Linked DNA regions of Homo sapiens: region 1 is linked to region 2. The links are contacts of gene promoters, found by promoter capture Hi-C in human tissues and cell types (Jung and others, 2019). All regions are on one chromosome and are shown on one strand. The core of a region is centred on a gene start or on the middle of the fragment in contact, and the rest is flanking DNA. Distances in the headings are between cores, read along the strand shown. Region 1 overlaps MINPP1 (multiple inositol-polyphosphate phosphatase 1). Region 2 holds the start of KLLN (killin, p53 regulated DNA replication inhibitor).

Region 1 (4,179 bases), core at 809-3,308, 320 kb before region 2:
GGCTGCATGATCACAGCTCACTGCAGCCTTGACCTCTCTGGCACAAGCCATCCTCCCACCTCACCCTCCCAGGTAGCTAGGACCTCAGGAGTGCACCACCATGCCTGGCTAATTTTTGTATTTTTAGTAGAGACCGGATTCCGCCATGTTGGCCAGGTTGGTCTTAACCTCCTGAGCTCAAGTGATCTGCCCACCTCAGCCTCCCAAAGTGCTAGGATTACAGGTGTGACCCACTCTGCCAAGCCAGTCTTTAAATCTTAAAGCTTCAAAACAGTTTCCTTCTTGCCATGTGAAACCTGCTTCCCCCTTGCCTTCCGTCATGATTGTAAGCCTCCTGAGGCCCTCCCCAGAAGCAGATGCTAGAGCCACGCTTCCTGTACAGCCTGCAGAACCGTAAGCCAAAATACACTTGTTTTCTTTATAAATTACCCAGTCTCAGGTATTTCTTTATAGCATTGCAGAAACGGACTAACACAAAATTGGTACCAAGGCATGGGGCACTGCTATAAAGATACCTGAAGATGTGGAAGTAGCTTTGGAACTGGGTAAAAGGCAAAGGCTGGAAGAGTTTGGAGGGCAAAGAAGACAGGAAGATGAAGAAAAATTTGGAACTTCTGAGAGACTGGTTAAATGGTTGTGAACAAAATGCTGATAGCGATATGAACAGTGAAGTCTAGGCTGATGAGGTTCCAGATGGAAGTGAGGATGTTATTGGGAACTAGAGCAAATGTTACCCCTGTCACATCCTAGCAAAGAACCTGGCTGTACTGTGTGCCCTAGGGATACCCTCATCAGTTTTTCCTCATTCAAGATGTGGCCTGGCTGCTTCTAACAGCCTATGATCTAATATGGGAGCAAAGAAATGACTTAAAGTTAGAACTTATATACAAAAGGGAAGCAGAGTGTAAAAGTTTGGAAAATTTTCAGTCAAGCCATGTGGTAGAGAAAGAAAAAGTATTTTCAGGAGAAGAATCCTAGCAGGCTGTGGAGCAACCACCTGAAAAAGAGGTTATCATGGCCAGGGCACAGTAGCTCATGCCTGTTAATTCCAGAACTTTGGGAGGTCAAGGAAGGAGGATCACTTGGGCCCAGGAGTTCAAGACCACTCTGGGCAAGAAAGTGAGACCTCATCTCTACAAAAAATAAAATAATTAGCTGGGTGTGGTGGTGCATGCCTGTAGTCCCAGCTACTCAGGGGCAGAGGCGGGAGGACTGTTTGAGTCTGAGGGGTCAAGGTTGCAGTGAGCTATGATCACTAAAATGAGTTTGGTCATTTCTAAGACACTGGATTATAAGACATATTAAAAGAAGATGTTTTAAGTTAGTATTATGTCCAGGTAAGGTTTCTTAAAAATAAATTTTTTAAAAAGAAAACAAAGTTAGTTTTATGAGAGAAGGGGGAGGCCCCAGACTCTTAAACAACCAGATTTCATGTGAACTGAGAAGTCACTCATCACCAAGGGGATGGCACTAAGCCATTCAAGAGGGATCCATCCCCATGATTCAGTACCTCCCACTAGGTCCCGCCTTCAACATTGGGGATCACTTTTCAGCATGAGATTTGGAGGAGACAAACATCCAAACTATATCAACTTCTGTGACCCAGTGTTGGGGGATGGGGGTTCCCCACCAATAAGCAGCAGACACCAGCTAGGTATCCTCTAATTTTGACACTATCTGCCTGGATGTAGCATCAGATCTTACAAGTTGAGGACTCAATCCCCAAGATTGCCCCCTGCCCTTTTCAGACACCAGTCATAAGTCTGGGCCTCTGGAACACCTGACTGACTGGCTTCAAGTTGGGGTTTTCACAGCCCCCTCTTTGGGTTCACTTAATTTCCAGGAGTGGCTCACAGAGCTCAGGAAAACATGTTTACCAGTTTAGTATAAAATATTACAGAGGATACAAATGACACATAAAATGAGGTATGGGGGAAAGGATGTGGAGCTTCCATGCCCTCCCAGGGCCACACCGCCCTCCAGGAACCTCCACATTTTCAGCTGTCCATAAGCTCTCCAAACCCTGTCCTCTTGGGTTCTTATGGAGGCCTCATTACTTAGACATGATTAATTAAACTATTGGCCATTGGTGATCAACTTGACCTTCAGCCCCTCTTGCTCTTCCCTGAGGTTGAGGGATGGGCTTGAAAATGCTAACCCTGTAATCATGCCTTTGCCTTTTTGCTGACCAGCTCCATCCTGAAGCTATCAATCAACATGAGCATGCAAAAAGACAGCACTTTGGAGATTTCAAGGATTTTAGGAGTTTTGTACCAGGAAACAGGAACAAAGACCAAATATATATTATATTTCACAATATCATTGGAACCTTAAGAAAGAAGCCTCTCTCCTTTCTTACGGAGCCTAGAGGAATAAAGATAATAATAAAGATTACTTTATTTATGAATAGTAATACTTTACAAAGTAATCTTTATTATCTTTATTCTAGTTTGCCCTTGAACCATTAAAGGTTACTAAGTTGAATTCAGGCTGAGAAAAACAAAATAGCAAAGAAAAACATTTATGTTTGAGATTTTAGTGATTTATATTCTGAGATGTTATGTAATGGAAATACTTTTGAGATAAAGCAAAAAATACTTAACATTCTTTTAGTTGTTGCAACTTATTTAAGAGTGTGTGTAATTCTTACCCTTGAAACCTCAACCTAGACATTTAGTGAATTCTGTTTTTGAAATGGGAAAATCAAGAATAAAGTCAGATTTTAAAAATTGTATAAAACATGTAGTTGCTAAAATGTAATTTTAAGTCCTCCTTAGGGTTTCAGTTTTATGAACCCTATGTCCTCCTTAAGGTTTCAGGAAACCTCCTTAGGGTTTCATGTTGATAGCATATTATATGAATTATTATGGCAGTTTTTTCTATTTTATAAGTTGTTTTTCTCTGAGATAAAATTTCTCTAAGTGGGATTTTTAATATTCAAGCTTTCTTGACTTTTTTTTTAAAAAAGACATAAACCAAACCAAGTATATTCTTACCTGTATCTAGTAAAGATTTGTGTACATACATTTAGGAGTGATTTATACATATGTCTTGAAGTGATAATTTGTTTTAGGTGATTATATGTTTTATACATGTTTGTGTTATACTTCACCAGTAGTGATATTGTCAAGCAAAAAAAAATATGCAGCATCATAAAATTAACTTTGTTTTCTTTTTAAAAAATTTATTCTTAAGAAACCTTACCTGGACATAATACTAACTTAAAATATCTTCTTTTAATATGTCTTATAATCCAGTGTCTTAGAAATGACCAAACTCATTTTAGTTATATCTAGGAAATCAAAGGTAAAGATGGAGAGATTGGCAAGGAGAGGAGGTTCATGAATTGAGAGTAGAATGTGTAAGAAGCATGAAATAGATCACATCGAGTCTGGATACAACCTCAGAATCCTTCTCAATGCAGTGTTCCAAATAGCTATTAATTACTGATTGGAGATTTGGCCCAGATACTGGTTTTATGACTAAAAGTTGTCATTTATTGACATATTCTCTTTCTTCTAAGCAAGAGTAAAAATTTAGATGCATACACCCTTGTCTTTGTTCATCTGCTTAGAGGCTTACATCATTAGTGATCATGTCGTGGGGCAAAATTGGGATTCAGCCCCGGAGGCCACATGGTTCTTGGCTTCACGGAGGCAAGAATTCAAGAGTGAGCCAAAAGACTAGAGCGAAAGCAAGTTTATTAAAAAGTAAAGGAATAAAAGGGAGGCTGCCACATAGGCAGAGTAGCCTTGAGGGCTGCTGGTTGGCTATTTTTTATGGTTATTAATAAATAATAGCATAAATTAATCGTATGCTAAACAAGGAGTGGATTATTCATGAGTTTTCTGGGAAAGGGTAGGGAATTGTCAGGACCAAGAGTTCCTTCCCTTTTTAGACCTTATAGGGTAACTTCCAGGAGTTGCCGTGGCATCTGTAAACTGTCACGGCACAGATGGGAGTGTCTTTTAGCATGCTAGTGTATTCTAGTTAGCACATAATGAGCAGTGAGGATCATTGAGGATGAGCAGAGGTCACTGTCTTTGCCCTCTTGATTCTGGCTGGTTGTGGCTGGCTTCTTTACCACATCCTGTTTTATCAGCAGGGTCCTTGTGACCTGTGTCTTGAGAAACACGTTCTGCCGAATTATCTCAATCAGCTTTTTATAGAACTGTGCTT
Region 2 (4,020 bases), core at 25-2,524:
GGAATTTGGAAAGTTCCCCAACTAGGGACACACGTGACCTCCTTCGGAAAGTAGTTCCGACTGTGGCCCGTGTATCCTTCCACCTCCTTTTGAACCCTCCTAGGTCTCCTCGCCCCGCCCACTCGCTGGGCTGCAGCTTCCTACCGTTCCGTACTTTCCACTCAACCCGGTAACCCCAAACGTGCACGGTCCGGCCGGGGCGCGCGGAGCCTGGCCCCGGGCGATCCATCCTGCCGGGTTTTCACGGCGGCCAAGGGGGGGCGGGGCTAGGTGGTCTCTGAGAACCGAGCTTGACTCCGACGCCGCGAACCGACCTGGAGCCCGAGGGGAAAGATGCTCGACTCTCTTGGGGGCACCGGAGCGGGCGCAGGAGAGGCCTGCGGGGTGCGTCCCACTCACAGGGATCCTCTTTCAGTTCATTTAGATAGGTGCCCTTTGGGCCCTTGAAATTCAACGGCTATGTGTTCACGTTCAGCACGCTCGGCTGAGAGCTTTCATTTTTAGGGCAAACGAGCCGAGTTACCGGGGAAGCGAGAGGTGGGGCGCTGCAAGGGAGCCGGATGAGGTGATACACGCTGGCGACACAATAGCAGGTTGCTCTTTGTGCTAAGACTGACACCATGAGGACACAGATTTGGGGGAAGGGGGAATCTCTAGGCAAAGGCTGTTACAGTCAAATCTCTGCGAACGATTGTGATCCGACAGCGGTGCAAAAGGAAAGAGCGAATGCAGTCCACGCCGCGGAAATCTAGGGGTAGAGGCAAGGGGGGAGGGTATTCCCCTTGCAGGGACCGTCCCTGCATTTCCCTCTACACTGAGCAGCGTGGTCACCTGGTCCTTTTCACCTGTGCACAGGTAACCTCAGACTCGAGTCAGTGACACTGCTCAACGCACCCATCTCAGCTTTCATCATCAGTCCTCCACCCCCGCCCCACAACAGCCTACCCTGCCTCCGGCTGGGTTTCTGGGCAGAGGCCGAGGCTTAGCTCGTTATCCTCGCCTCGCGTTGCTGCAAAAGCCGCAGCAAGTGCAGCTGCAGGCTGGCGGCTGGGAACCGGCCCGAGCAAGCCCCAGGCAGCTACACTGGGCATGCTCAGTAGAGCCTGCGGCTTGGGGACTCTGCGCTCGCACCCAGAGCTACCGCTCTGCCCCCTCCTACCGCCCCCTGCCCTGCCCTGCCCTCCCCTCGCCCGGCGCGGTCCCGTCCGCCTCTCGCTCGCCTCCCGCCTCCCCTCGGTCTTCCGAGGCGCCCGGGCTCCCGGCGCGGCGGCGGAGGGGGCGGGCAGGCCGGCGGGCGGTGATGTGGCGGGACTCTTTATGCGCTGCGGCAGGATACGCGCTCGGCGCTGGGACGCGACTGCGCTCAGTTCTCTCCTCTCGGAAGCTGCAGCCATGATGGAAGTTTGAGAGTTGAGCCGCTGTGAGGCGAGGCCGGGCTCAGGCGAGGGAGATGAGAGACGGCGGCGGCCGCGGCCCGGAGCCCCTCTCAGCGCCTGTGAGCAGCCGCGGGGGCAGCGCCCTCGGGGAGCCGGCCGGCCTGCGGCGGCGGCAGCGGCGGCGTTTCTCGCCTCCTCTTCGTCTTTTCTAACCGTGCAGCCTCTTCCTCGGCTTCTCCTGAAAGGGAAGGTGGAAGCCGTGGGCTCGGGCGGGAGCCGGCTGAGGCGCGGCGGCGGCGGCGGCACCTCCCGCTCCTGGAGCGGGGGGGAGAAGCGGCGGCGGCGGCGGCCGCGGCGGCTGCAGCTCCAGGGAGGGGGTCTGAGTCGCCTGTCACCATTTCCAGGGCTGGGAACGCCGGAGAGTTGGTCTCTCCCCTTCTACTGCCTCCAACACGGCGGCGGCGGCGGCTGGCACATCCAGGGACCCGGGCCGGTTTTAAACCTCCCGTGCGCCGCCGCCGCACCCCCCGTGGCCCGGGCTCCGGAGGCCGCCGGCGGAGGCAGCCGTTCGGAGGATTATTCGTCTTCTCCCCATTCCGCTGCCGCCGCTGCCAGGCCTCTGGCTGCTGAGGAGAAGCAGGCCCAGTCGCTGCAACCATCCAGCAGCCGCCGCAGCAGCCATTACCCGGCTGCGGTCCAGAGCCAAGCGGCGGCAGAGCGAGGGGCATCAGCTACCGCCAAGTCCAGAGCCATTTCCATCCTGCAGAAGAAGCCCCGCCACCAGCAGCTTCTGCCATCTCTCTCCTCCTTTTTCTTCAGCCACAGGCTCCCAGACATGACAGCCATCATCAAAGAGATCGTTAGCAGAAACAAAAGGAGATATCAAGAGGATGGATTCGACTTAGACTTGACCTGTATCCATTTCTGCGGCTGCTCCTCTTTACCTTTCTGTCACTCTCTTAGAACGTGGGAGTAGACGGATGCGAAAATGTCCGTAGTTTGGGTGACTATAACATTTAACCCTGGTCAGGTTGCTAGGTCATATATTTTGTGTTTCCTTTCTGTGTATTCAACCTAGGGTGTGTTTGGCTAGACGGAACTCTTGCCTGGTTGCAAGTGTCAAGCCACCGATTGCTTTCTTAGGCTATCTATATGGTCTCTTCCTGAGGGCTATTGTCCGTTAATACAGAATACAGTACACTGTTAGTGGATTAGCGAGCTCGGTAATCCGGTCTCCTAAATGAACAAAAAAGTAGACGCTTTTTGAGGTTGAGCATATTTCGATTAAATCTTGGCTTAGGCCCTAGATCAAGGGTTTAGATCAGAATAAAATGAAAATTAGTGTTGCACGTACGCATATTGCATCAGAATCTTGCAGTGATTGTTTTAGTTTCCTGAGTTGCATTGATAGATTCTTTTAAAATATGACTGATTTGCATAACTTTAGAAGCAGAATCATTTTCAGTATATATGGTGCACATTGAGGGCAAAAAGTAGTTTTGTTAATGTTTAAACTTAAGTTACCTACAACTTTGAACTGTATGTAGAAGTTTTGTAGTTTGAAGTCAATAGTGCCATAATATACCTTATAAGGCGTTCTTACTAGATCTTTGTTATATTTACCTTTTTCTCTCCCTATGGGGTGATGTAGGATAGTGCTTGAAATTTGCACTTCAGTAGCATTTAATGTTCAGTGCTCTTGTCATAAACATAGAATGGATATTGAGTAGTTTCTGATCCCAGATGGTAATGTGTAGGTTCAAGGGTATTGTGTGTAGCAAGTGAAGATTGCAGAAATAAAACTTCAGTTCATGCTTGAAATTTAAGTATTGTTGTGATGCCAGAATTGCTGCTCACCGTTTTTAGGTTTCAGGTCCTCTGACACCTTTTGGTATCGTTAATTTTACTGATTTGTGTAGAATGTCAGTTGTATTTTACCAGCTAATATCTAGAAATGCTGGCAAGAGGGGTTTACTCCAGCTTTAGATTGTAGGTATGTTAGCTTTTTTCATACAGTGTATTAAATTTACTGAGTCAGCTTGCTGAATAAGACAGAAGCCCAAGAATTTTAACAGTGTGTAGCTTTAGTTGTCTAAAAGTTAGGCCTTCGGGCTTCAAAAGTTAGTGGTCATCGAAAAGCATTAATCTTTGCAGTTTCAGGTACAACACATTGGTTTTGATTAGGGATGGGGATGGGGCCCTCTTTTTGCAGAATGGGGAAAGTATTGACAGGAATTGAGAGCTATTGGTAGGCCAGTGTATAAGGTATGTGAAAACAGAATTAAGTTATTGGTCTGAAGTGACTGAAGCATTTAGGCTCTATCAAGGCCTAAAATTTGGTAATATGAGTTTGGTAATGCGAATTGTGGCAGTGGACAATATTTAGTTAAAATTATGTAATTGCATAAGTACTAGCACAGTATTTTTAATAAAAGTTATTTCTTAGCAAATGTCAGTTGCATTTTGTCTAAAGGTAGAGTGACACTACAGTGTCTATATGTCCTGCTAAAAATTGTGGGGAATATTTTTTTTTAAGACAGCGTTTATATCGGGAGAGGTTTTATTCCGTTGGATTATGTTAGCTGCATATAAATGTGCACAGTTAATTTTGCCCAAGTTTTTGTTTTGAAATGAATGTAAAACT

Evidence for each region. The method cuts DNA at HindIII sites, captures the fragments that hold promoters and counts their contacts. A contact is called where the count stands out against the background at its distance.
Region 1: a contact is called between a fragment that was not itself captured here and the fragment with the promoter of KLLN in region 2, in 1 of the 25 tissues and cell types used here (IMR-90 fibroblasts).

What each region holds. Positions count from the first base shown.
Region 1 is chr10:87,542,355-87,546,533 of GRCh38, forward strand. All of the region lies in intron 4 of MINPP1 (multiple inositol-polyphosphate phosphatase 1), which reads left to right. Among named protein-coding and RNA genes, the nearest start is that of MINPP1, 40 kb to the left of the region's middle. The HindIII fragment of the contact is 4,515 bases long and covers 1-4,179 here.
Region 2 is chr10:87,862,259-87,866,278 of GRCh38, forward strand. KLLN (killin, p53 regulated DNA replication inhibitor) reads right to left here and starts at 1,275. Exons shown (of 1, transcript NM_001126049.2): 1 at 1-1,275. The coding sequence starts at 229. It overlaps MLDHR (mitochondrial lactate dehydrogenase regulator), which reads left to right and starts at 1,301. Exons shown (of 1, transcript NM_001433720.1): 1 at 1,301-1,396. The coding sequence starts at 1,301. The coding sequence ends at 1,396. PTEN (phosphatase and tensin homolog) reads left to right here and starts at 1,367. Exons shown (of 9, transcript NM_000314.8): 1 at 1,367-2,290. The coding sequence starts at 2,212. RefSeq lists enhancers at 2-91, 342-521 and silencers at 1,122-1,431, 1,522-1,661. The HindIII fragment of the contact is 9,209 bases long and covers 1-4,020 here.